Linked DNA regions of Homo sapiens: regions 2, 3 and 4 are each linked to region 1. The links are contacts of gene promoters, found by promoter capture Hi-C in human tissues and cell types (Jung and others, 2019). All regions are on one chromosome and are shown on one strand. The core of a region is centred on a gene start or on the middle of the fragment in contact, and the rest is flanking DNA. Distances in the headings are between cores, read along the strand shown. Region 1 holds the start of CDC14B (cell division cycle 14B). Region 2 overlaps FANCC (FA complementation group C). Region 3 overlaps PTCH1 (patched 1). Region 4 overlaps NCBP1 (nuclear cap binding protein subunit 1).

Region 1 (6,833 bases), core at 1,219-3,718:
GCGGAGCTTGCAGTGAGCCGAGATCGCGCCACTGCACTCCAGTCTGGGCGACAGAGCGAGACTTCGTCTCAAAAAAAAGAAAAGAAAAGAAAAAAAAAGAAAATGTTCCACAGTTGTTTTCATTTCAGGGTAAATTTACCTAGGAAAGATAGGAATATTTTAGAGAATCCCTCCTTTTTTTTTTTTTTTTCCTTTTCATTGTGCTGCCATAATGTTGAGAATCAACCAGACGCATCTGTTCCCTAAGCGCCACAGTTCAGGAAAAGACAAGCCAGATCCTAGAGAGTTTTGGTTCCCACCCCAGCCTGGCCACTGCCACTCATCTGGGTCCCCGTGTCCTCACTGTGAAAGGATAGCCTTGGACCAAATATTGTCTAAGGAGCTTTCAAGCTCTAAAATTCTATGATGAGTCGTCAAGCAATGAACAACAAACTAACCAGGGAAGCAAACTAAAATACATTTCCTGTGGCCAAATTCTCAGAGCCCAGGAGTCAACTTATCAAAGAGGGGGAGGAGTCAAACAGTTCAAGAGCAGTGCCACACACACAAAACAAGTATCAGCTAGGAAACAGCACTTTTCTGCCTCTATCTAAACATGACCTAAAAACAAAATATAAATAGGGTTTAAAACTTTAATGTGTATACTCAGCACACAGACTTCCTATTCACAAGAAGGGAAGATACTTTCGCGTAATTACAAAGTGTAGTCCTATACTTTGTCTGTTCCTACTATACAAAGCATAAAATTATATACTTGCAAAGTATGAAAATATTTAAATGGTATAATTATCTGTATTTATGACACTTTTTTTTTTTTTTTTCTGAGACGGAGTCTAGCTCTGTCACCCAGGCTGGAGTGCAATGGCACGATCTCGGCTCACTGCAACCTCTGCCTCCTGACATTTAAACAAATTACTCTCAAAAGATCATAATGTCATGGAGGTAGTTTCTCTGTACTTCCAGGGAGCCACACGGACCACTCTCCTGTAATATCTATTCAAAACAAGACCCACTCATTTAAAATCCCTGGTAGTCTGGGAAACTGGGTGGCTTTCCAATGCTGAGCCCCTAGGCCGGTCTGAAAGGTCTCCTCCTCCTCCTCCAGGTCAAAACAAAGGACTGTGACCCTACCGTTTCTGCTCTCTAAAACTTACTTGCGCAGCGCCGCACAGCCTCCCACGTCTCTAGCTTCTTTGCTGCCCCTACAGACAGACATGTAGATCATTTTAAATTTAAGGCCTTCACTGATTTCCTTAGGGGAAACAGAGGAAGAGTGAACAGGAGAACCAACCTTAAGAAAAAGTGCTTACAGAGTTGCTGATCTCTAGCTTCAGACACAGCCCCCCTACTTCCTTATTTAGCCGTGCTTAAGGTAAAAGCCCACAACAATAGAAGTCAAAGAGCCCCTTCCTGAGGTGCTCTATGAAAATTTGCATTTCTGAGAGGCTTCCAAGGGGACTGACTCAAATTCATCTTTCTTTTCCCCAGGCTGGCAGTTAACTGCGGAACTGCAGGATAAAACGTTCAAGTGCTGGTGAAAAATAGGGACAGCTTGCAGATGTTGTAAAATTTGGGGCCGTGAAATCTTAACACTGCCCTCCAATCTTCTCACCCTTTTAGATGCTACCATGGACGTTTGTTTAAAGGCCCTCCAAAATGACAGTTTTTGGTTAAGTTCCAGGAAGATAGGGCATTATTTTAATCCAGTAGAAAAAGAAGAGGATATGACCCTACAGTGTGCCAGATAAAGAAGTTTAAGGACAAAACTTGCCCCTTGCTTCAATACTTCATGATATAATCGGACCTGTCGACACCTCAGTATACACAGCAATGAGTGTATAAACTTACTGAATTAATGTGGGCGCTGGATTCCGAGATGAGAAACTCTGAGGTGCAAACAACCACGGTATATTGTGGTTCCACGGAAGTTTCATCGGGTCCTTAAGAAGCCCTTGCTTGGCCTGTTTGAATGCTGGGCATAGGTCGATAAATAGAGCGTAGTTGTTTAAATAGTTTTACTTAAGTTCTGAAATCAACTCTACTTTAAATCTATATAGCTGCAGGTAATGTAATCAGGCCATCCTCTTCCAAGCTGGCAGCCATGGCAAAAGTCCCTTTCTCTTGGCGCGAATTACAAGGAAATTCAAGAAATACTTTAAGATATATATATGCCAAAGACCTGGAGTTAAGTTACTAGGGTGGGGCTGTGTAAATGTTTGGTGACTCACTAAAGAAAGTTGGGATCTGGGGTGCTGGCACCTGGAGGACACAGAAGAAACAAAAGTTGGGGGGCTGGCGAAGGTCGCTAGCACACTTTATCTCTGATTGGCGGAAGCCCTCAGAGTTTTCTTTATGGCGTCACCGAGTACCTGCCTGTAGAAAGGCCCCGTCTCCGTGACGTCACGCCGCATTGGCCAATGAAAGGCCTCAGTCTGCGGGCCCCGAGGAGGGTTGTGGGCCCTTTTTTGTGAATGAAGCGCCACGGAACAGCCCTCCTGGGGTCCCCACGAGCCGCGTCCTGCTGTGCCCCGGCGCCTACGCAGCAGCGGCCGCGGCCGCGGTGGGCACGCACGGTTACCCCGGGCAGCTCCGGCCGCCAGCTGCAGCCCCGTCGCCTCGGCCGCGCCAGCCGGCTGCGGGCACCTGGGGGCGGGCTGGGGGCGCCGGCCGCGGCAGGAGGCGCTGTAGCGAGGGCTGCGGCGCCGGTCCTGCGGCGGCCGCGGGAGGCAGCGGGGCAGGCGCTGTGGGCCGGGCTCCTCCTCCGGCTCCTGCGCGACCGCCTCCCGCCGGGCTCTGCCGGCGCCCGCCGTCCCCGCAGCGCCGCTCTGCGCCCGCCGCCCCGAGCGCCCGCGCGGGGCTGGCGGGAGCCTCGGCGGGCGCGCGGGCGCGCGGGGCCATGGTCGTGGCCCCCTGACGGGCCGCGGCCGCCTCCATGAAGCGGAAAAGCGAGCGGCGGTCGAGCTGGGCCGCCGCGCCCCCCTGCTCGCGGCGCTGCTCGTCGACCTCGCCGGGTGTGAAGAAGATCCGCAGCTCCACGCAGCAAGACCCGCGCCGCCGGGACCCCCAGGACGACGTGTACCTGGACATCACCGGTGAGCCGGCCAGTGGGCGCGCGGAGGGCCCCGGACGGCCGCACCCGGCGCGGGGCCCTGGCCCACCTCCCACCGGGCTGCCCGGGGCCTCCGGGGCCGGGCCGAAATGCCTTCGCCCCCACCCCCTTAAACGCCCCGGCCGCCACACCCCCTTTAGGAGCCTGGCTCCTGAGGAGCGCCCCCCGCCCCGAGTTTCTAGCTGCGTGGGCTGCGAGCTTTAACTTTAGCTTGTGCACCCTCCTCCACCAGCAAGATGGACCGAGGGTCACCTTTCTAAGTTGCGGGCGTCAGCCCGGCGCCTCGAACCTGCAGCTCCTCCCCGCGGGCTGCTTCTGAGTTCCTGTGGATTCCGCCTTCAGGGATTGCGAGCCCGGTTGGCCCTCGCGCGAGTCACAACCTCTGAATCAGCCCCTGAGGATTCCCCGAGCGCGCTGAACGCGCCTGGCACGGGAGCTGCCCCTTTTTGGCGTTGGCCAAACCCCCGCTGCTCCGTAGCCTTGGGACCCTGGGCGCCGCGTTGCCCGTCCGGCGCGTAAGCCCGAGCCCCTCTCCTGGGCCTCCCGCGCCCTGCCCCCTAGCGCGCCCCCCGAACGCCTCCGCCTCCCGGGGTCCGCTCCCCGCCGGGGCCTCGAGAAGGAAGGTGTCACGTTGGTGGCATTCGAGCCAGCCGGCAAGACGAATGTCCGGGTTGTCACTTTTGAGAAATCCCAGCCAGCCAGAGCAGGTAGCCAAGCAGCCCTTCGATAGCTGTTCTGTTAGTGCTGATTCGACTGTTCTTGGAGACTCATAAATCCAATTTGGCAGCTGTTAGGTTTGCTGGGATTGACAGTGACGCGTGTGAAGGCATTAAATGTGATGATGTATGTGGCAACGCTGTGTAAACAGCAGAGCTGTCCACGATTTTGAGGGAATTGGCAGTCTGTTTTCAGTGGCGGGGAATGTGTCAACCTCGGTGCGTGGCGTTATTAAAAACTGTTTCCAGCCCCTAGCCTTTGATAAACCAGGTAAGCTGGAGTGGCGAGAACATTAAGTGGAAGTGTTTAGACAAACACAGACGTTTAGGAGAAATAATATTCTAGGTTCATGGACAATCTGGAAACTAAGTTCGTTTTGAAATGAAGCTGAGAGCAGAGCGGGTTTCTCGGCTTTGGTGGATGGCCCTTGGGAACCAGAGCGGGCATAGGAAGGGGTTGCCCTGAGTACCAGTCCCCGGCCGGTAGCTGCGGGGGGTGTGCGGGAGGTGAAGCCTGCTGAGACTGAGAAGCCAAGTCCCGCTAACGTTGTGCCCTTCCCAGGAGAGGGCCTCGCCGAGGACGGATGGGGCTGGGAACGGGTGGGCCTATACATAGTTTCTGCCCGTTATTGTTTATACCTCTTGAAAGGATCTGTGTTGAATGGGATTTAATTTTAGGACAAGTAATGCATTTACATGGTACAGAACTCCAATTCTAAAGGTGCACAGGAGTACGTGCAGAAAAGTTGGTCTCACAGTCTCCAAGTGTCCTTCTCTAGAGGCAACTACTCTTCCCAGTTTCTTGTGAAGCCTTCTAGAAATAGGCTGTGCATGCATACTATATATACTATATATTCTCTACCATACACGTGCGAGTAGCACACATGTTGTTTTGCACATTTTTCCGTTTTCATAGTGTTTCTTATTAGAATGATTGTTCTGAGTTGGTGCATATAAGACTGGCTTACTTGATTTTAATTACTGCTTAGGCCAATGTACATACGGTTTTATGAATAAAACCATTAACAAGTACGTATGGATTTAAATGTTTATGTAGATTTGAATGTTTTTTAACCTATTTAGACAGTCCCTGTTGATGAACATTTGGGTTTTCAATCAGAAGGTTTGTGACAGCAAAGTCATTGGAATAAATCTTTCTTCTTGATGGAGATGAAATATGTGGCTAGTCTTCGTGAGGCAGTCACCAATTAATCAACTTCAGAAAAATAGAACCAAGCAGAATACTGAGGAGGGGTGCGTTACAGGAAATAAAAATGCTATCAGAGGGCAACCCGCTCTGGTCCCCTTCCACGCTGCGGAAGCTTTGTTCTTTTGCTCTTCACAATAAATCTTGCTGCTGCTAAAAAAAAAAAAAAATCCTATCAGATTGCAAGCCCTAATAACGGAAGGGTCCAGCTTTAATGTAAGGGAGCTCCAGGGGAGTAAAGGTTATAGTCACCTTTCCCTGTGACTTCTCTAGGTGTCCCTCAGTGATAGTCTTGGCTTCCTGGAAAAATGATACTTAATCAGTCTGTTGCAGTGTGATATACAAGGCCAATTAAAGTATCTTCAGATACAGAGTTCAGATTACTTTTTATTGGGCTTTTGGGGGAAGGCTTGAGGCCTGTCCTCAGCAAGTGGCAAACTGGTCCCTTCCTTCTCAACGTGTTTTTCCCTCCATTATTGTTTTCTTAATTTAAAAAGCAGTGCATGCACACTTCTAAAAAGTCAAACATTATCAAATGAGTTTTTTTTTTTTTTTGAGACAGAGTCTCGCTCTGTTGCCCAGGCTGGTGTGCAGTGGCTCAATCTCGGCTCACTGCAACCTCTGCCTCCCGGGTTCAAGGGATTCTCCTGCCTCAGCCTCCCAAGTAGCTGGGAATACAGGCGCCCGCCACCATGCCTGGCTAATTTTTGTATTTTTAGTAGAGACAGTGTTTCACCATGTTGTCCAGGCTAGTCTCAAACTCCTGACCTTGTGATCCGCCCGCCTTGGTCTCCCAAGGTGCTGGGATTACAGGCGTGAGCCTTCACCCAGCCTATCAAATGAGTTTTATGGAGTCTTCCTCCCTTGGTAATGTTTTTCCTCCTTCAATTTTCTGTGCACATTCAAGTTTCTGGAAATTGTGCCATACCAGCAAGATTAGTTCTCTTTTTTTTTGAGACGGAGTCTTGCTCTGTTGCCCGGGTTGAGTGCGGTGGAGCTATCTCGGCTCACCACAACCTCTGCCTCCCGGGTTCAAGCAATTCTCCTGCCTCAGCTTCCTGAGTAGTTGGAACTACAGGCATACGCCACCATGCCCGGCTAATTTTTGTAATTTTAGTAGAGATGGGGTTTCACTATGTTGGCCAGGCTGGTCTGGAACTCCTGACTTCGTGATCCCCCCCAGCCTAGATCTCCCAAAGTGCTGGGGTTACAGGCGTGAGCCACCGCCCGCAGCTGATTAGTTATCTTTTGATGGCTGCATTATATGGCCAAATCATGATTTATTTAGTAGTAATAAATAGCTGGTTATTTGGGGGTTTTCCAGTCCCTATTGCAAATGGCTGCAGTAGCATCAATGTATGTGTCTGTTTATATGTGTGACTATATCTATAGAGTGTATTTCTAGAGGTGAAAACGCCAGGCCAGAGTACATATGGACTTTATCCATTCCTCAGTGGACTTTTTGGCTATTAGGAATAATGCTGCTGTGAACATTCATATACAGGTTGTTGCATGGACATGTTTTCAGTATAACACCCAGGAGTAGAATGGCAGGATCACATGGTATCTCCACGTTTAATGTTTTAAGGAACTGTCAGACTCTTTTTCCGAATGGCTACGCCGCCAGCGTTCCCACAAGCAATGCACCAATTATTCCACATCCTTGCCAGCACTTAATATTGGATTGACAAGATTCTTTCACAGTGGAGTAGGTTTGTAAAAATTAATGCATATTGTCACTTCTGTCCACCCTGCCCTTAAATACATCATTTTTTAACTTAGTCCCTTGACATTTTTATTG
Region 2 (6,833 bases), core at 3,233-5,732, 1.5 Mb after region 1:
ATCTGGAAGACTTCTTCCTAGCCTGGAAGCCCTGACCTCGGCCCATCTGCAGAATCTCCCAGTTCCTTCACAGCTGCCGAGTCCTCTCACGGGTGCGGTGGAGGCGGCCTTGCCGGTGGTGCTTTCTGGGCAGCCAGGGGTTCCTGGGTGGGAGGACTGTCCCTCTGGGGACGTGGCACTGAAGTGCCTGCTGGCTTCATGTGGCCCTTTGCCCTTTCCCAGCCTGAGAGATGCTCAAAGGTGGGGAGCTGGGGGAGCCACCCCTCGGCCATTCCCTCCACCTCCAAGACAGGTGGCGGCCGGGCAGGCACTCTTAAGCCCACCTCCCCCTCTTGTTGCCTTCGATTTCGGCAAAGCCTGGGCAGGTGCCACCGGGAAGGAATGGCATCCGAGATGCTGGGCGGGGACGCGGCGTGGCCGAGGGGGCCTTGACGGCGTTGGCGGGGCCTGGGCACAGGGGCAGCCGCAGGGAGGCAGGGATGGCAAGGCGTGAAGCCACCCTGGAAGGAACTGGACCAAGGTCTTCAGAGGTGCGACAGGGTCTGGAATCTGACCTTACTCTAGCAGGAGTTTTTGTAGACTCTCCCTGATAGTTTAGTTTTTGATAAAGCATGCTGGTAAAACCACTACCCTCAGAGAGAGCCAAAAATACAGAAGAGGCGGAGAGCGCCCCTCCAACCAGGCTGTTATTCCCCTGGACTCCGTGACATCTGTGGAATTTTTTAGCTCTTTAAAATCTGTAATTTGTTGTCTATTTTTTCATTCTAAATAAAACTTCAGTTTGCACCTAATGTTGTATCCATTAAATATTACAATCCTTCTCTCAGGAAAAAGCTCCCCCGATGGCCCCAGACAGTGGAAGCTTCGGGCCTCAGGAAACCTAGATGTGCCCTGGAAGAGACCGAGGATGGCTTAGCCTCTGGGCCTGGGAACCTTGCTACTAAATACCTAAAAACTAAGGGTCCTGTCACCAAGGAGGAAGCAGGAGGACAAGGGCAGGCATCTGGCAGGGCCTGCCAAGATCAGGTTACATGCGTTTCATATCTGTGTTTTCTCTAAGCCAGGCTTGACCATAAGCCTCACTTGAATTGTTCTGTCTCTTCCCTGATCCCTGAAGCTGAAGGCCTCGTCCCACCAGCATAGCCCACCCACTCTTGCTCGCTCCGTTGCTTCACAGGCTGCTGTCCCCTCCTCCAGCCCCACAGGCCCCTCTGGGAGGCATGAGTGATGCGGCCAAGGCGAGCAGCGCCGTGGCCACCCCCAGGACCCCCACTGCAGTGGGGTTTCCAGCACTCCCCATGCTTCCGGCTATGGGACACTAGGGCCCCTCTCGGGGTCAGGAGGGCGCCTGAGGGAGCAGACAGGAAATGCTAAGACACTCCTGAGGAGCCTCTCACTGGAGCAGCCATGGTTGGCAGGGTTTCGTGGTTTGTTCTTCACCCTGTCCTGCCTGGTGTCTAAGTGGTGGGACAAGGTGCTAGGACAGAAATGGGAGCTAGGACAGAAATGGGAGCTAGTCCAGGGGATGGGAGGAAGCCGAGTTTTCTGTTGAAGTGGAGAAGTTACGAATGGGGTCTTGACAGGGAAGCCAGAGAAGAAGGGACCTTGGTGAGCCTGGCAGAGTGAATCCACCCAAAATGCTGGGAAGTCAAAACCGAGCCTGGCCTTACGCTGCCCAGAGGACGGCGGATGCACTGGAGGATTTGCACAGTGGGAGCAAATGTGAGGAATGTTCTCCTTATTCAACAAGGAATCCAAAATTTTTTTGCTTTCCAAGGAAGAAGAGAAACAGTTCCCCGTGCTTCTCCCCTCGCCTTTTTCTTCCTCTGTTTCCAGCCCAGGACCACCTCCCCCAGCCCGGGGGCTCGGGTGCTAAAGTTCTTCCCTCTGCCAAATGTTGGGAAATCCGTAGATTTTGTCGAAAAATCCTAAGTCATTAATCATCGCTAAGCCATTTTACAACCAAAGAACAAAAATTAAGATACAGTAAGTACATAACATGTCTTCAAGCCTCCTCCTAAAATCCAGTTCCACAATTGGTTTATACCATGGGTCCAAATCACACCCCTCAAGCCCAAACTGGTAATGGAGAGCTCATAGCAAAGGCCTTCCCTCCCGCTCCTGTCATGGTGTCTTACTGCACTTGCTGTTCTGGGCAGGGAATTTGTTCACCCAGGACTTTTGGTTGCAAGCAACAGAAACGTGCACTGAATGCTGAAAGTAAAGGGGAACTGATGAAAAAGGTATTGGGCTGATGAGGCCTGGTGTGAGCCGGCCAGCAGCAGTCCCAGCCTTGCTTCAGATGCTCTGGCAAGGCCAGTCGTGCTGCCCAGCCCTTCCGGACCCCACTCCAGCCGGGAGAAAGGCCCTTGTGCCCACTCCTTTCCACACCCCTGCCCAGGTGCATCAGATGGAGGAGCCTGGGTCAAAGGCCTGCCAGGGATGCTAGGAAATCACGCATCTGGCTTCAGCTTCTTTAACGTTATTGGGTACCTTGGATACCACCAAAAGCATCACCCAACTACAGGAAGGGGCCAAACACTGGGCAAATGGAGACAATAAAAATGTCTCCAGCTCATTACAGCATCTATACTTTAGCCTATGCCAGAGCATTTTAGAAGGTTGCGTCCCATGAAACAGCCCAGCAGCCAGCACCAGAACAGGCAGAGGTGAGCCTTTTCAGAAAGATGTTTTGTAGGCACCTAAATCTGGGTTTCTTAAATGCAGCACCATGAGCACTTTGGACCAGATGCCTCCCTGTTGTGGGGGTGTCCTGTGCACTGCAGGGTGTTGGCAGCATCCTGGCCTCCACCACTAGGTGCCGGTGCACCCCTTCCACCAGTGGTGACAAAACTTTCTCCAGACATTGCCCAATCCCCTTCCAACCGAGGGTACTGCTGTAACTGCTGGCCTCTCCCTCTGGAACGACATCCTAGACACAGACACTAACGGTTGTAGACACAGCGAATAGACAACCTGATTCCAACATTCATATGGACAGTAAACGTTCATGAACAGCCAGGCAAGCTCTGAAAGTGAAGCGTACCACGCACTGACACATACTTTGGTGTGAGGTTCTCATGAAGGGAAACATGGGTGGGGCTGAAAGGGCCCCCGTGGCTGCAGCCAGCGGCCAGCTCTCAGGCCTCATGGGCCGACCTCCTCCCAGCTCACATGCTCCTCCTCTTCTCCTGACCCCCTCCTGGTGGGCGCCCTTGGACTCCACCTAGAGGCTGGACCCTGTCCTGCCCGTGGCTTCACATGGCATCTCTAGGCAGAGGGACCACACCTGCCCCTGGATCACCGGCCCGGAGAGCCCGCCGCCTGTTGGGCATCACCACTGGCGGTGTGAAGACCCTCTCTGCTTACCACATCCCAGGTGGGCCCACCTGCTCCACCCACCTCCCGCACCCACCAGCTCCCCATGTTGCCGATGGCCATTCCATCCTGCCAGGGACTCAGGGCGAGTTCTGAAGCCACTCTTGACCCCTCCCTTTCTCCCACCTCCACATCCAGCCCGTCGGGGAGCCAGGAAGCTGGCCCTCTGTCACTCCCCGCTACTCACTGCCTAGGTTTCAGACATCATCTCCCGCCGAGTAAATCACGTGTACATGTACAGAATTTAGTATAAGATAAAGACATTGCCATCAACGGGGAAAAGATGGTATCAGGAGTAAAACTGTTACAGAATAAGCTCCCCAGCCCTCTGCCTTTCCCAGCGTCGGCATCTGGAGCATGGCTCGTTCTGGGATCTGTGTGTTCTGAGAAGCCTCTAGCAGTTCCCCTGCTTCGGAGAGGCAGGGAGGCTGCAGCCACTCTGGGGAGATGCTGCATTACTTACTTAGATAAATAAGGATTTCGCTTATAAAATTGAAGCTTCCCTCCTCCCAAAATGCAGAAAGCATTTTCTGGTCTTTCATTTAGAACTTCTTTGTTCCTCAGTGGTTTGCAGATGGTCACACCCTGTCCAGCCCCGGCCACTCCCTCCCGGCCCACCCACACCCCTGCGTGCAGGTCACTGCCTCAGGGCAGACTCTCCAGTCCTTTGGAGGGAGGAAGGGGAGCTGAGAGGATGCCGATCTCACGAAGAGGGGGCGGGACCCAAGGCTCCAGCGCATCCCTGCGGACTTCCATGCCTCCTTTCAGGCCAGGCCGTGGGGACCCCCCACGCATCTCCCTTGGCTGTGTCTGCCACAGGGAACCCTTTCCATGCCCAACGCAAAAGCAAGAAACCACAGGAGAAAAGGTGGGTAAAACTGGCCATACAGAAATCAAAAGCAAACTCACCAAAGTATCTCAATACACATGGTAAACTGAGGGAAGAAGAAGTATTTGCAGCACATGAAAAAAGCGAATTTCCTAACTTCTAAAGCTCTTCTACACATCAGTAAGGAAACAGCTGCCAGCTCGAAACGCACGGGCAGGGACACACACGACACAGGGAACGGGACGGCAGGGGCTTTTCCACAGCGTGGCAGAAGCCCAGGTGCTCCCAACCATCTCCACGGCAGCTTGGGAAACACTCAAGGCTGATGCTCCCCATGCTGATGACAGAGTGCGGAACAGGCAGAGGAAGGGACAGGAAACTGGTACCACCTTTTCGGAGGACAGCCTGTCAAACATCCAAATTTATCAGCACCGTAAGATAGGGTGAAAAAAATCAAAATAGAAAATTGACTCTGGAAACAGTATGGTAACCTAGAACTCTGATCTATCCATTCTGCCTCTAGATGTTTACCCAAAAGAATGCAAAGTAACAGCTGAGGAAATCCTGGACGCCATGTTCCTGGCAGCACTCTCCTGGACAGCCAAGAGGCAGACAGCTGCATCCGCCAGCAGCCAAGCCAGTGCAGAAAGGAAACGTGGTCTGTGTGTATGGCAGGATGGTCCTCAGCCTTAGAAGGCAGAGATCCTACACTTTGGGAGGCCCAGGCAGGCAGATCACGAGGTCAGGAGTTCAAGACCAGCCTGGCCAACATGGTGAAACCCCGTCTCTACTGAAAATACAAAAATTAGCTGGGCATGGTGGCGCACACCTGTAATCCCAGCTACTCGGGAGGCTGAGGCAGGAGAATTGCTTGAACCCAGGAGGCAGAGGCTGCAGTGAGCCAAGATCGTGCCACTGCACTCCACTTGGGCAGCAGAGTGAGACTCTGTCTCAAAGAAAAAAGAAAAAAGAGGCAGAGATCCTGAGCACGCCACAGTATGGAGGAACCTGGAAGACTTTATGTTAAATGAAATCAGCCAGACATAAAAGGACAAAGATTTTATGAATCCTCTCATATGAGCTCCCTAAAACAGGCAAGCCTCAAAGACAGGAAGCTGCATGGTGCTTCCCAGGGACCTGGGGGAGGGGAAGTGGGGCACGAGTGTTGAATGGGTCCCGTTTCACTGGGGAAGATGAAAAAGTTCTGCAGGCGGATCGTGGTGAGCTGCACAACAATGAAGACACCGAGGCTGCTGAGCTGGGTCCTGACACATGGTTATACTGGTCAATCTTATGTGTATTCTGCTGTAATAAAAGCACTAAGATCGAAAAAGATTATATATCCTTTCTCCAAGGAGCAGACACCCAGTTCTCCTGACCCCACTCCCTCCACTGCAGACTGCAGGGATCCACACTAGTGCGCACATCTAGGGCTTTCCCCGTGGATATGCCGGCGCCTGTGCGTGTGCAGGATGCGACAGCCAACAACCACTGGGGCAACTCAGAGGTTCACATAAAGATATAAATGAAAGGAAACAGAGAGGGAGGAAAGGGAGAGAAAGGAGAAGAGCAAGAAAGGGGTGGGGGAGAGAGAGGAACGAGAGAAAAAAAGGAAAAGCCTGCGTGCAAGCAAGTGCACACTCTTACCCTTGAGCCCGGGCCTGCTGTCCACTTCACACACACTGACCCAACAAAGTCAGCTGAAGCTTACAGAGGAGGAAATGCAAACACAGAGAGGCCGAATAATGTGCCCAAGGCTACACTGAGGCCATCTAGCAGGGCTGGGACTTGAACGAAGCCCCCAGAAGGTGGGGTGTCACTGCCTCTCGAGTTACAGCGCGTCCATGCAATGCAGCCATCGACACAGAGAAGCGAGCGTTATGTACGTGCCAATCTAGACCCGTGTGAACACTGTGCCACCCTCCGTGTATAAAGCAGGGCCTGCACACGTGCTTGCCGGCGCCAGGGTGGAGACGGTAATCAACTTCATTATAGTGATTTGGGGAAGAGACTAGCTGAAAAGGCAGAGAAAACTTACTTTTTGTTTACATATTACCTATATTTGTTTGCATGTGTGATCTATGAGAAAAATAAGTTGTTATCAAGTATGCAAAGGAAGACTCTTTGTTTGCTCTAAGAGAGGGCTGCCGTTAAACGCTGCCCTGAAGGGAAGGAGGCCAGGCACCATCTGTAACTTTAAAAGGAGACAGCGCCATCTCTGATCCTTGCACCGTAGTCACCGTGGTGGTGCTTTTGTTTCTTATTCACAGGACTTATGTTCTACCATTGGACAGAATTTTCTAGAAAAAGTCTACTTACTATGACTGGACGCATGTGCCCTGACATTTGTTGGGCCATGACCCAGCTTTCCAAAGACCCATCCTCCATCTGCCAGGGCCCTGTGCTCATCATGGCTTTCCTCCTGTACGCAAGTCCTCTGCCTCAGCTGTGCTAAAACCAAGTTTCTGCAGTCACTTCCTCCACGCTTTTAACTTAGTAAAGCAGATACAATCATCAAACTATAGCTCCTTCCCCATAAATTATCTGTGTTTTCTTTACAACCCAACATAAATGCACACTTGTTCCATTCCATCAGCAATCACTGAAACGGACTCCGGCCTCATCT
Region 3 (6,833 bases), core at 913-3,412, 1.1 Mb after region 1:
GAAGACAAACATTTTTACATTATTTTGGTGACAAAGGTTTCAATTTTTTTCCCCCGCTGGTTTCTTATTTATCTTTTTGGCAAGTTCCAAATCCTGCTATTTGGAAACACTTTAACCCTAAACACCACTTTGGGCATCCCTTACCTTACAAGAGGGTAGTAGGGGAGGGTAGAGGTGACTAGGTAGATAATTCAAACCAAAATACCTGGAGCATTCCTCCGGACAGCATGTGGAAGCTGAAGAGTTATGCGCATAATCGCTTCAGTGATCCCTTTCAGGATGCTGTTGGAGACCTTGAAGAATATTTCCTTAATCTCTCCTTGTTTGTGAAGATTCAGCTTGCAGAGTTTTGCAAGCCTGGGGTGGAGTTGGAGTATTTAGTTGAGAAGTGACAATTAAAATAATAGTCTACATAATTAAGACAAAACATTCCTGCCTTAAGTAGTTTGGTAATTAATACAAAAGCGTTCTTTGGATTGAATCCATGGAGTAATTTACCTCAGTTCAGCGATTCAGTATCACTGGTAGATAAAAGAAGGGTTTTATCGAGCAGCTATTATGCTCCTAGCAACAAGTTTCTTGAGCACCTATGATGTCCCTAGCACTGTGTTAAGCACCATAAGAGACTCAAGTGTGTGCGACACTGCACAATTTAAAACTATTAGAATTCGATGCATTTGGACTACATTTGGGTTCACAGCTGAAATGGGCTGTGAAAGTTACAAGAGGGTGGTAGGGGGTGGGGGGAGAGAACTGGAGACGGTAGGGGAAGGAGGGCATTTTAGGCATGGGCGGGACACCAGCAGGGGCCCCAGCTGAGGAGTTTGGAAGTGATGTGATTGGCTAGACTGTAGGGGCGCTGCCGTAGATTCTAGGACAGAATAGGGCATGAGGACAGGGAGGGCCGCTGCCGTAGATTCTTGGACAGAATAGGGCATGAGCACAGGGAGGGCCGGCTCATCCACCACTTGATCCAACCTGTATTTGTTGCCATCGGATGAGGATGACAAAACGTGATTTTGTGGTGTTCTTAGCAAGAGTTTTCAGTGGACCTTTGACATGTTGAAGGAGATAGAATGTGATTTATTTTCTTAACATTGCATATTTCTGGAAATAACTTGCTTTCTGCATAACACGACCCATTTCAAGTCCTGGAAGGAGATGCAGTGTGCTTCCTAGCAGTTTTATGGGAGCTGCCAGTTGTGTAGTGAGAGGGAGTAAAGTTTTTCTTTTTCAATGGACTGGATGAGGACACTTCTGAGGGGCACACTCACTTTGCTTACTTTTGGCAGTTTCAGCATGACTCACTGGTCTTGGGCCAAATGTTATTTACTCAGTACTAATACTGTCACTTGTTGAGCAACTGCCATGTACCAGGCATTTGTTATATATTATCGCATGCCTTACGATTCAATAAAATAGCTATTATTATCTTTTTTTTTTTTTTTTTTTTTTTTTTTTTTTTTTTTTTTTTTGAGACGGAGTCTCGCTCTGTCGCCCAGGCCAGACTGCGGACTGCAGTGGCGCAATCTCGGCTCACTGCAAGCTCCACTTCCTGGGTTCACGCCATTCTCCTGCCTCAGCCTCCCGAGTAGCTGGGACTACAGGCGCCCGCCACCGCGCCCGGCTAATTTTTTGTATTTTTAGTAGAGACGGGGTTTCACCTTGTTAGCCAGGATGGTCTCGATCTCCTGACCTCATGATCCACCCGCCTCGGCCTCCCAAAGTGCTGGGATTACAGGCGTGAGCCACCGCGCCCGGCCCTATTTTGTTTTTATAACATGATAGTGGATGTAATGTCTTTATGATGAGGATTGTCCCATTTTACAGATGGGAAACTATGGGTTGTCTGTTTGTCTCCAGGTCTACTTTGCCTACTAATGACATAAGTCACTTGTTCTGTTGCCCTGTCCTTGATCTCTCATTCATTCATTCATTCATTCATTCTGTGCTAGATTCTCCCCCTAGAGAAGAAGCGACAGTTTCATAAATGCAGATAGACCCAACTAGAGAGGTGACTATACAACAGTAGCCATATAGATTTAATTTCATTTTCAAAGCAGAAGTGATTGTGTAGAGATCTTGTTTGTGACAGAGTGAGCTGAGTGTTCACGTCAGCAGTAAGTAGTGTGAGCATTTGCATTCAGGAGTAAGATTTCCCTGCTGTCCTATACCTCAGTGGACGTCCGTGAATTGAAGTGAGTAATAGCTCCACATTTAAGTTCATTTTGTGCATCAGTCTCATAGATAAATTCCTCATCACTATCAGCAAAGAAATCTGTTAGATGCTGCTTTCTTGGTAGGTTGTTCTTAAGGTTCTAGACATGAATTTTTATATGAACTGGGCATCAACAGAGTGCTTGCTACACAAACGAAATGGATAGAGGTAGCATATTGCCCTAGTTAGAAAACAACAGAAGAGAGGAAAGTATGAGATTTTAAGGGGAGAGGGATGCTGAGGGATAGTTTGGAAGAAGCTCCTTCTCCTGCGGTTTAAAATCACAGGAGCGTGTGTGTGTATGCACATTGTCTTATTCTGCATATCCTCCTATCTGCCAAAGGCATGTTAATGTTATCTTTTTAATACAGCCAGCAAATTAAAGGGATCCACTCGAAAGGCTGTGTCTTCAAATTGACTTTCATGCTTTGTTTAACATGCTGGGGAAATGTGGCTTTATAAAGAGTTGGCTTTATAAAGAGGGCAGAATACATCAGCCACAATGTGCAGACTAATATATGCTAGATGAGAAAGAGTCCGTGTGTGTGCATGCGCGTGTGTGTGCGTGTGTAGGAATTGGTGATAAGAATTATTGTATTCTGTTGTTAAAATGTCCATATAATGATTGCCTTTTAATAAACTGTCAATTATATGTTAAGATACCAGCTTGAGTTTTAGGGTTATAGTGTTTGCTAATCAAAATTGTCAAATCAGTTTCACATATGTGCGGAGTAATGAGGTTTGATAGAGAATATGTTGACTGATGTAGTGGACATCTGCTGTTGCAGAAACACATGACCATGGCAGCAAGGTGGGGGAGAAACTAATTGTCATTGTATAAAAATAGAAGCGTTCATTCTGCACATGTTCTCAGTACCTACTCTGCACCACCATTGCAGAAAGCTCTCCAGAGAGATGTTGGTGAAAAGCCACAGTCTCTGCCCTCAGGGGAACTCCATCCAAACATTCAGCAGGTACACGGACTGGTGTGTGGGTAGTTAACATGAAGGACAGCAGTGCCAAGATGGCAGGAAAATCGGGGACATCTTCCAGGATGGCCTCAAGGGTGGAGGCCTGAGCTAGGCACAGGGGCTGGAGGGGAGAGGGTAGGGGGCATTCAGGGCAGAAGGAACAGCATAGGCAAAGGCTCAGAGAACAGGAATGTGGCCTCCTGGAGGGCAGCCTCCCTTTGTGGGTCGTTGAGGTTGGGTGGGAGCCTGGAAGCTGGGCTCGTCCCTCAGGGCCATTTCACAGAAGTCTCCCTGCTTGGCTGGGGGCTGTCAGCTCTTCCTACTAGCCATCCCTGTCTCACGAGTGTGCTCACGTGTTGGCCTCTAGTGTTTTCCCTGGAGCCACGAATGCTTCACCTGGATCTCACCTTTCTGGGCACAGACTGGTGTTATTTTTAATCTTGCCTGTTTCTTTGTTGGTATTTCCTTTTTGTTAAGCAGTTTTAACCCATCTCCCTCAGTATCTATTTCTTTTCATATCAGCCCCCTCACTGCAGCCCTCCCTCAGAACAAGTTTCTTGTCAAGCTTCTCCAGCGATAGAACATTCATTTATTTCTTTGAGCTTTTTGTTTTTTCTAAAAGCTTGCCCAGCTCCTGGCCTCCTTTTCTGCAGAGGGCAGCAGCCTTGTAATGAATCCATATTGCTTTGGTGTTTGGATGTTAACATTGCTGCAGGCCAGCGTCAAGGAAGAAGGAGGCAAGTTGTGACTTTGACTTTTTTTTTTTTTTAAGAAAAATAGAAGAAATTGTTTTTTAAAATACATGCTTGGTATGTGTAAGTGCTTTCAAGTTTGTACCTTGCTAGTGTTAATGCTTTCAGTGTTCTTGAACTCAGGCAATCAGTTGTAGGAGATAACTGAGTTTCACCACTCCTTCAATTTGGAGCAAGGTCCCTCAACCTCAGGACTATTGACATTGGGGCTGGATCATCCTCTGTTGTTGGGGGCTGTTCTGTGCACTATAAGATGTTTAGCAGCATCCTGGTTTCTACCTACTAGATGCCAGTAGCACCCTCCCAGTTGTGACAACCAGAATGTTTCCAGTCATTGCCAGATGTCACTGGGGGAGAGGGTGTCCCAAATCATCACGATTGAGACCCACTGGTTTAGATGATAAAAAGATTTTGATTGGAAGACTCATGCTGTGCAGATGGAAGACGTTTATTATGATGGAGTTGTGGCTACAATGCATTGCAGAGATGCAAGAGTATTAATCTTCTTTAAGATAACTCCCCCATCCCATTCCTGTATTTATAGACCCAGATAACTATTTTTCTTAGAATGACATTAAATGTCAAAGAAAAACACCGTGATGGGTCGAAAGAGGAAAGAGGCCATGGAAGAAAGAAATAATTTATATTTGGGTACCTTTTGGTGGGGGGTATCTAAATTTGCAGAAAGACTGGTTGCACCTCAACCCCAGTAGCCTGAAGGTTTTTAGCATGGTTGACTTTCTGAAAAGCTTTAATAGAAGACACCACTGCCTTTGTGCATATTGAAATAACAGCTCCTTCAGAAGCCCGGCTAGTGTGTGAACTCCTTGGTGGTCTCATTCTCCTCCAGATGTTTCTGTCACAAACCACTCCCCCTTGTCCCCCCAGGAGCCCTTGTGGAGCAGAACCAAGGGACAGCAAGGGACCAGTCCCAGCCAGAAGGGCAGAATGGATTCTGCTGTCACTGCCCTTCCACAGTGAGCACCTGGTTTCTTTTCTCTGGGGTTGCCATTGTGGGGGCATTTCACAAGGGACAGGAAGAAAAATGCAGCTCCTTTCTGCTCCCTGGACCCCCATACATGGTTTAGAAGGGAGAATATGTTTATAGGTATTTATTAGTTTCTACTACTGGGTATGCACATTTAGGTGGAAGCAGTTGTGATATTTCTTTCATATTTGGAGAAAAACGATTGGAAATGAGAAGCCACCAATGATTGTTTAAAAAAGAACAAATAGCCCTCAGGTGTCTTCTACACAGGGCAGTTGACCCTGCGAATCCTCCCTATCTCTTTGCTGTCTGCCATTCTTGACCCTTCACCAAGTTGAGAGGACAGGTTGGGTAATGGGGTGTTTCAGATACATAGGATGCCGCTCAGAGGTTCCAGAAGATGACAGCTTCCAGATGTATGAACAGCCTGATCCGTGTGTTTAGATTATGCACCACAGCTGATGCCGAGATTAATGCTGGCTGGACAAGCCATGGGAGATTTGTCTGGTTTCCACAATGCCATGTTTATGTTTCATTTGAGTTTCTCCTTCAAAGCTGACCTGCCTGTGACCCTGGGCTCTGTCCACTCGGGCAAGCTGAAACTCGGGCAAGCTGAAACTCGTCTGCCCTGTTCTCCTGCTTGTATTGGGGTAGGGGAGAGTCACAATTGGGCGGAGAAAGGGGCGCTTTGGTGGCCGCCTTCTGCCTCACCATGCCAGCTATCTGCCCAGATTTAGCCCCTGATGAGTGTTCAGTTCTCCTCGGGGATGTGTTTCACTGTAAAAGGTTTTTTGGCTTTTAAAACAAATATGGAAATATTATAAAATAACTGTAAAGGGGACCAGATTTAATAGAAGCCACTTTGCATAAATGTAGTATTTTAACTTCTGGCACTCTTTTGACACTATTTAGGGGGAGAAAAAGTTGAGGGAATTTCAGCTATGTCAGACACCCCCACATAATAACCATGGCTGTGTCATCCTATTATAATACTATTAATGTTTCCTGTGCCCCTCGCTGGCTCCCAGAACCTCTGCTGCCTCCTCCCTCTCTCCCCTGCCCCCTTCCCTCCTGCCCCTTCTCCCGCCCACCCACTCTAACCTGCCCACGTCATTTCCTTCCAAGTGGATCTCTGCAGTTACTAGTGTGAACTCTGAAATGGTAGTAAGTCTGGCTAATCACAACCTAAGAGGAGGGAATGAGAACATTTATTATTTCAAGCCAGCTGTGGGAGATACTAGATACAGAGCTGCCATTTGCATCCTTGGCATTCTTATTTTGGTTAGGGTTGGTTCCAAGACCACACTCTTTGATGGGCTCTTGGCAGAAGATGTGATTCCCCTGTTGAAGAATCATGACTTTTTTTAATGGACTGCTGAGGCAACTTTAAAATCCATTGACAAGTTTCTTCAACCCATACCACACCGCCAGAGAGAGTGGGAAATAAGTCTTGGTCCCCTGTGCTTACCGTGGCGCATGGACAGTGGAAGAACTGGGTTCCCTAGCATTTCTGAGACAGTGAGTGGAGCACAAACCATGGCTTTCCCTCCCAGGTGCCCCACTTCAGGTCTTCCTTGCTTAGAACTCCCACCAAAGCCAGTGGGCACATGGAGCTTGGCTAGATTGAAGACGATGGAATTCCTTATCCAGATTTTGGCCGACTCTGAAGCTTTATGTGTTCCATCCTCACGAGAGGTCTTGGTTGACATCCAGAGACCAGAGGGCCTTGCTGGTGAGGGCACTTCTGCCTGCAGGAGGAGGAAGCTCTGCGGGATTCTCTCAGTGGGAACATTCCTTGAATACACAGATATAATCAGGGTCATCAAAATATAAACACTTCTGTTACTTTCTCTTCTAATCTTTGAATTTGGGTGCTTATGATAATACTCACTGGATTTTTTTTT
Region 4 (6,833 bases), core at 1,660-4,159, 1.0 Mb before region 1:
ATTGTTCTTCAGAAATCCATGAAAAGTGGACGAGTGAAATTTAAAAACTAAGCAGTCTATGATAACAGAATAAGTATTAGAAATGGGAGGACACCATGGGCTCCATTTTACCTCTTTTACTAATTCACTCTCTTACTCTGGGCAAATTACCTCAAGTATTCAGGGCTGATTTAGTTCATGCATAAATTAAGGGGTCTATACCCTAGGTCCCTTCTAAGGGCTCATCTTCTATGAAAATTATTAATTACTAAAGTACTAAAAATGATCAATTATCTACATCCCAGGGGCTTCAACATGGATTCAATTTGGGATACAGATGCATGGTAATACCAGCTTTGCCAAAATGTAGTCCAACTTTTCAGCTGCAAAAATTAATCAAAGCACAGTTAACCACATTCTTAAACCCATCACAGCCTGTGCCTATTGTGTGACATACCTTTTCTCCTACTTTACATATTAAAGATTCCAAATGATCTTCAGTTTCATTTGCATCAGAGGTCTTTCTCCTTTTGTGAGGCTGCCCACCTATTTCAGCAACATAAAAAATTAACATTACATGATAAATCTGCTATCACAAATTTTATTTAACCTTTTTAGGTTATAATCTCTTTTCTACCAGGCCCTATGTTTTTACAGAGTAGAAGCTCTTCACAGACCCTCCATTTCTCAGACTAAGCTAGATTAACCAACAGCCTCCCATTCCCAGAGCCACTATATACAATAACTCCAGGAGGCATTATTTATGTTAAATTTTGTGTGAGTAGTGCCCATGGAGCTATGCAATCAGCAGCCCTGTCCATTTCTGTGGACAAGCTGGAAAGCTGCCAACAACATGTTAAACACTAGTAGTTAGAATACTCATGTACCGCTACTCCCATTCTTTTAACTTGAGTTGTTTACTGATCCTCAGTTGCTTGTTCCGAAACCTGTTAGTACCAGTAGTATTCATTAGTCTAATAATGTATTATGTAAATGACAAAATAAGGGTGCAAAACCAAGTCGAATGCTTTGGAAAGACTTGATCAGAAAAAAAAGCTGTCATATCAGCTATAAAGAGGAAAGCTTCAAAAGATGGGAAAAAGGAGCATAAAACATTAGGATTTCTCACTTGCTTCACATGTTTCTAAGCTCTAATCTCAAGTCTTCAATTAACAATTTCAGTTCTGCATATGATGCAGCACAACGGTATAGTTTATCCTAAATAATGGGAACGACAGTCAGTATACGTATATTCAAAGAAAAGTCCTGAGCACTATATCAAAAAATTGGTGGAAAAAAGGACCACGTTTTACAATTCCTGCTTTAACTAGCTTTTATTAACTGAATTACTGATAACTGCTTTATTTAAAAACCATATCATTCGAATAATCTCTATGTTTTTTAAATCTACCATTCTAAAATCATTACCAAGCATCTGTCTTTTTGATTGCTCAACAATTCAAGTTGAATGAAGGTGTGCTAAAAATTAACCTCAAACACCTGTCTATTAAGACCCTTGCTGTTTGTATCTCTTACCACTTTGTTTAAAGCCTTAACACACTCACCTAAGTCCTTTTGTGGTATAACATAAAGCTTAAAAAATTAAAATAATAGTGTTAAGTATGGAACCTGATGCTGCTGCTAAACACTTTGGCTAGTCTAATACAATCCAATTTTCGACTTCCATTGATTCAATTATTTGGTCGGCATATGGACAAGAAAGCAAGAGCCTGTAACTGTGCAGGGAATCGGTATTAATAATGAAAATCTGCAGTTGGATATATGGTTACACAGTAGCAAGTTACATATAACTTCAATCTTCAGATCTGAACAGCCAAAGGAATTATTGTTACAAAGTTCATAATCACTTACTTGCCTATGGAACACTTGGCTTGAAAATGATGTATGGTGATTCTCATAAAACACAGCACCTGGCTATTCTAAGCTTGGAATGTTAAATCTATTGAATGACTGAAATGATCTTCAGATACCACATGAACTGAAGCTGAATAAAACGAATCTATTACTATCCACATAGGATCTGAGGGGGGGTATTATAAAGGTTACAGGGTAAGACACTCTGTACGTCAACTTCCCAACCCATTAATTACCATGATAACCTGACTGAATGTCCACTGACTATAATTTTGAAAGGATAATGCCACAAAAAGTATAATACGCATGCAGCATGAGAGCTGAGATGTATTTATTCCTGGAGATATCTGCCTGTGTAAAGTTGTAGACATGTGTGGCACAGAGGTTCAGGGACCTTGATTCTTAAGTATAGATCAAACCTAAGTCACAGGACCTATCAAGGTTCCACCACCCAAAGTGCCAAATTTCACACAAAGGTCTTTCATTTCCAGGATTCACTTATTGAAAAAAAGCATAATTGATGTAATATTTACGCAAGCTGCCAGCTAGGACATTCAAATAGCCTTCTTCTACAGCAGTAGTTCTCAACAGGGTGTAGATTTTGCCCCCAGTGGTCATCTGGCAAACCTTGGAGACATTTTTAGTAGTCAAAACTAGGGGAAGCAACTGGCATCTAGTGGGTAGGGGCCAGGCATGCTGCTAAATATCTCACGTTGCATAGGGCATCTCCCAAAACAAATAACTGGCCAAGAATGTCAATAGTGCTGATGTTAAGAAACCGTATTCTAGAAAGCAGAGCTCCTCAGAACCAAATTTCAGTGAGGTTGGGAGAATGCAGATGCTGAAAAACTAGCTGAATGAGAGCAGTTATTTTTTGTTGCTGTTTTTTAAACCTTAAGCACACTGTTCCCTTCTTTCTGGCTCATCTATTTTGCCAACCCTTTATTCCACCTCTACAGTCTTCCTAACTTAACTTTCCAGCTGGCTTGTTCCAGTTTGGAATCATACCACAGCCTTTAAAGCAACCCTCCTAGGCCCTCTTATAAGCTTGAAAAGGGGAAAATAGTGCTGTGGGAAGAGAAGGTATGATTTCTGAGAAACAACTAGAAAATACATGTACATAGTCACATCTCTGAACTGCAAACCCTTTGTTCATTTTGGCTATATTAAAGGACAATATTTGTCTGGAGAATGGGAGGAGGCAGAAAGTATTAAGAGGTAAGAAATGTTCCACTTTCACCTGATAGTTGAGAGACTATAAAGGGGTGAAGACTACAGACAAAATCTGAACTTACGAACAGAAACATGATATTGAACTCATAAGACAACCTGGGTAAGGGAACAGGGAAATGAAATAAAACAATACGAATACAATTTGGGGAATTCGCTCAATGTACCCTGAAGAAAACGTATCTATGGTAGTTCCCAAGGCAAGAACAGATTTTTTATTAAAATTTAACTATGTAAAAGTTTTAAAATGTAAATTAAAGATAACATTACCACTTCACTCAGACAGACTTGGCTAGTATAGAGAAGCAGGTATAAAATCCATCTGAAAGGATCTTAATAAACCAAATAAATTTCCCCTCTATAAGTCAATCCTAATTTTATACGGGTACACTGTACATCTTATAGCCTTACAAGAAATTTTAGACCCACAAAATGGAAAACAAAAACCAACCCTGTAAAATAGAAAAGTAAAGTAACTAAAACCAACAACTTCAACATTACGTTTTTAAACCTTAAGCACACTGTTCCCTTCTTTTTGGCTCATCTATTTTGATATTGAACAACTTGAAAGATAACATGCCTTGAGCCCGCAGACTTAAAACAGGCAACCATCACTTCTGAAATAAACTATACTCTCTCAAAATAACAAATCCTTTCACTTCTATTTTTTTCTTTAGTTAAGTAAAAAAATCAGCCACAGTCCAAAAGACAAGGACCTAATTCTAAGAAGCTTAAATGGGGCTAATACAGCAAATCTGAAATTTTTGTAAATTGCCCAAATTCCCAAAATTGTATTCGTATTGTTTCTAGCTAAGATTTTGAACAATCTAAATACTTTCTTAAAAGAACAAACAATGGACTGCATATCCCATAGTAACTAAAAAGCTTCAGAGACATTTTTAAAGCAAGTCTAAGCAATTAGTTAAGATTTAGCACTGGACTAGTATCCATACACATTACTTTCCATTTAGCATTTCCTTTTCCTTGTTTATAAATGGACTACTACATGAACTTCATTGGTATAGCCTCCTAATCCTACCCCCCTTAATCTTTGATAGTCGAGTCTCAACACAGAAGTATAATTTTATAATCTCCCTATAAGATGCAACCCTCTGCTATCTCTCTAATCTTATCTCCTACAACTTCCCCCTCACTCACTCTGCTCCAGCACCACTGGCCTCCTTGCTCTTCTGTTAACATGACAGGAACCCTATAGTCTTCAGGCTTTTGTGCCCATGGTTACCTTTGGATCACAGCTTTTCCCCATACAGCTATATGGCTGCTACCTTACCTCCGGCAAGTCTTTGTTCAAATGCCATTCACACCGAAGCCTTCTCTAATCAACTTACATAAAATAGTAACTTCTCCCTCACAGAAATCTCTCCCCTCTTTACCTGGTATCACTCCATAGCGCCTGTCACTATATGATACACTATACTTTACTTGACTGTCTTCTCTCTACTCTAGAGGGGAGGCTCTATCTTTATATTGTCCACTGCTGTATGGCAAGTAATTAGGACAGAGCTTGGCACTGTTAAGTATTTGTTGAATAAATGATTTTATATATATATATATATATATATATATATATATATATGTATTACTTTCCATATGCTTGCTTCTATATATACAGTATATAATTATATGTAAAATATATATTAGAGTATATATTTATATAAAACTTATAATAAACAAACTTATATAATATATAAATATAAATTTATAATATATAAATATAAATTTATATAATATATAAATATATATAATACATTCTATTATAGTTTATATATATACACACACTCTATATATAGAGAGTCAAGCATACGGAAAGTCAGGGCAGTGACTGACAGCAGCTGACAATTGTCCAGAAATGCTCAGATGCATCTATTTAATTCTGACTGTAATAATTCCTACCCTATTTTAAAATAGCCTTCTATAATCCTTAAGCTTCTAAGATTTATTTTTTAAAAAATAGATTTTTAACTAAAAGGAAAGCATCCAAAATAATCTGATTCAGATCACTGTGTAGGGTAAACTCCAGCGATCGTTATCCAAATTGTGGCAACTGACAAAAATTTCAGATTTGCTGTATTATCAAACATGAATTGTATCTGCCTCTCCCACACTAAAATATCAACCATAAAAACCTTTGCTTAATGAATGCTTTGTTTTACTTGTCTTATTTACTCTGAGGTTCTCGCGGCAAGACCCAAATGGACAGTGATTTGGCTGCCAGCTGGTGTTAAAAACAAGCCAACTCCAAGAAAGTTATGTAAGTCTCCCAATAACCAAAGCAAAAGTTATTTTTCTACATATTAGCATTCCAATTCTCTAGGATGCCCTACAATGACATTTCCTCTCTCTTTAGGGATTACCTCTAAGTGAGAAAAAGGAAGCATTAGAACAACAAAGAAAAGAACAAAAGACTCAAGTTCTCCAGCCCCCAAGTAATGACTTGAGAAGTATATTAGTTTTTGACTAGTCAATTACAAAGCATATGAAAATTGTATTATCGGCGGGCGCAGTAGCTCACATCTGTAATCCCGGCACTTTGGAAGGCCGAGGCGGGTGGATCACCTGAGCTCAGGAGTTCAAGATCAGCCTGGGCAACGTGGCGAAACCCCGTCTCTACAAAAAATACAAAAACAAAAAAAAAATTAGCCGGGCGTGGTGGCCCGCGCCTGTGGTCCCAGTTACTTAGGAGGCTGAGGTGGGAGGATCACTTGAGCCTGAGAGGCGGAGGTTGCAGTAAGCCGAGATCGCGCCACTGCACTCCAGCCTGACAAAGAATGACACTCCGTCTCAGAAAAAAAAAAAAAAGGGAGGGAATTGTATTTTCTGTGCCTTGTACAGAGGTTACACAAGAAACCTCGTGTTAGAAATCAAAGCACGCAGCATAGTTATTTAATTTATACCTGTGTAGTGAAGAGAGCCCCGGACTGGATTCGCTCTTGCTGGTGTTTGGGAACTGACAGCTGTCCCTCCATCTTAGTTATGCTCAGTCTCTAGACCCTTAGGTGTCAGATAGAAAGCTGGACTAGAATATCCTCTCAAGCCATTCCTTCGTAGAAATCTGGTGTTTCACTATTAAAACTAAATGCATGCGATTCTGCCTCCACCTCAACTGCCACAACACTCAAGGAGAGACAAACGTTAGTAGATAAAATTTACTCAATTTAAAATGTCTGTTATGGGTTTTTTTCTTACATTGACAGCATCTGCTAACGTTTACCGCCTCTTAAGCGTTGGCAAATGATAAAACATCATTGTTGCTGATGTGTATTACCTCATTTAACCTTCACAAAAACCAGAAGATATAAATATCATTACTTCTGTATTACAGACTAAAGTTTAAGGAGATTTCATAACCTGGACAAGATCACCAAGTAAATGGTAGGGTCTGGCTTTGAACCTAAACCCTCTGGTTCCAAAGTCTCATCTCTTAACCACTACTATACACTCTCTTCAAAAAACAATACACTAAAATGTTAACAATAGAATTACTCTAAGTTTTACTTTTTTGGTGTGTGGATTTGTGTTTTTGACCGATTGTAAGGCTTATGTGTAATATAAGCATCTTTTTTTTGTTGTTGTTAAAACTAGAATTATTCCATCTTTATGAAGGCAACACTGATCTCCACGAGCACAATCATCCAAACGGAGATGGGAACCCCTGTTCTAACTCTCTCAGAGGCCTGAAGTTAGTTTTCTAGCACTCTCTCTCACACAAGGGAAATGCGCTTACGGCC

Evidence for each region. Contacts are between HindIII fragments. The study calls those that stand out against the background at their distance.
Region 2: a fragment that was not itself captured here is called in contact with the fragment with the promoter of CDC14B in region 1 in 1 of the 25 tissues and cell types used here (dorsolateral prefrontal cortex).
Region 3: a contact is called between a fragment that was not itself captured here and the fragment with the promoter of CDC14B in region 1, in 1 of the 25 tissues and cell types used here (dorsolateral prefrontal cortex).
Region 4: a fragment that was not itself captured here is called in contact with the fragment with the promoter of CDC14B in region 1 in 1 of the 25 tissues and cell types used here (spleen).

Annotation. Positions count from the first base shown.
Region 1 is chr9:96,615,478-96,622,310 of GRCh38, reverse strand. CDC14B (cell division cycle 14B) reads left to right here and starts at 2,468. Exons shown (of 14, transcript NM_033331.4): 1 at 2,468-3,092. The coding sequence starts at 2,933. RefSeq lists an enhancer at 2,817-3,317. The HindIII fragment of the contact is 32,033 bases long and covers 1-6,833 here.
Region 2 is chr9:95,093,012-95,099,844 of GRCh38, reverse strand. FANCC (FA complementation group C) reads left to right here. Exons shown (of 15, transcript NM_000136.3): 15 at 1-791. It also overlaps a transcript of AOPEP not described here. Among named protein-coding and RNA genes, the nearest start is that of MIR3074, 10 kb to the right of the region's middle. The HindIII fragment of the contact is 4,225 bases long and covers 2,370-6,594 here.
Region 3 is chr9:95,498,665-95,505,497 of GRCh38, reverse strand. The region is part of intron 2 of PTCH1 (patched 1); the gene reads left to right. Among named protein-coding and RNA genes, the nearest start is that of PTCH1, 7.2 kb to the left of the region's middle. The HindIII fragment of the contact is 6,964 bases long and covers 1-5,644 here.
Region 4 is chr9:97,634,486-97,641,318 of GRCh38, reverse strand. It overlaps NCBP1 (nuclear cap binding protein subunit 1), which reads right to left. Exons shown (of 23, transcript NM_002486.5): 2 at 437-525. Among named protein-coding and RNA genes, the nearest start is that of NCBP1, 4.1 kb to the right of the region's middle. RefSeq lists an enhancer at 6,638-6,833. The HindIII fragment of the contact is 3,183 bases long and covers 1,318-4,500 here.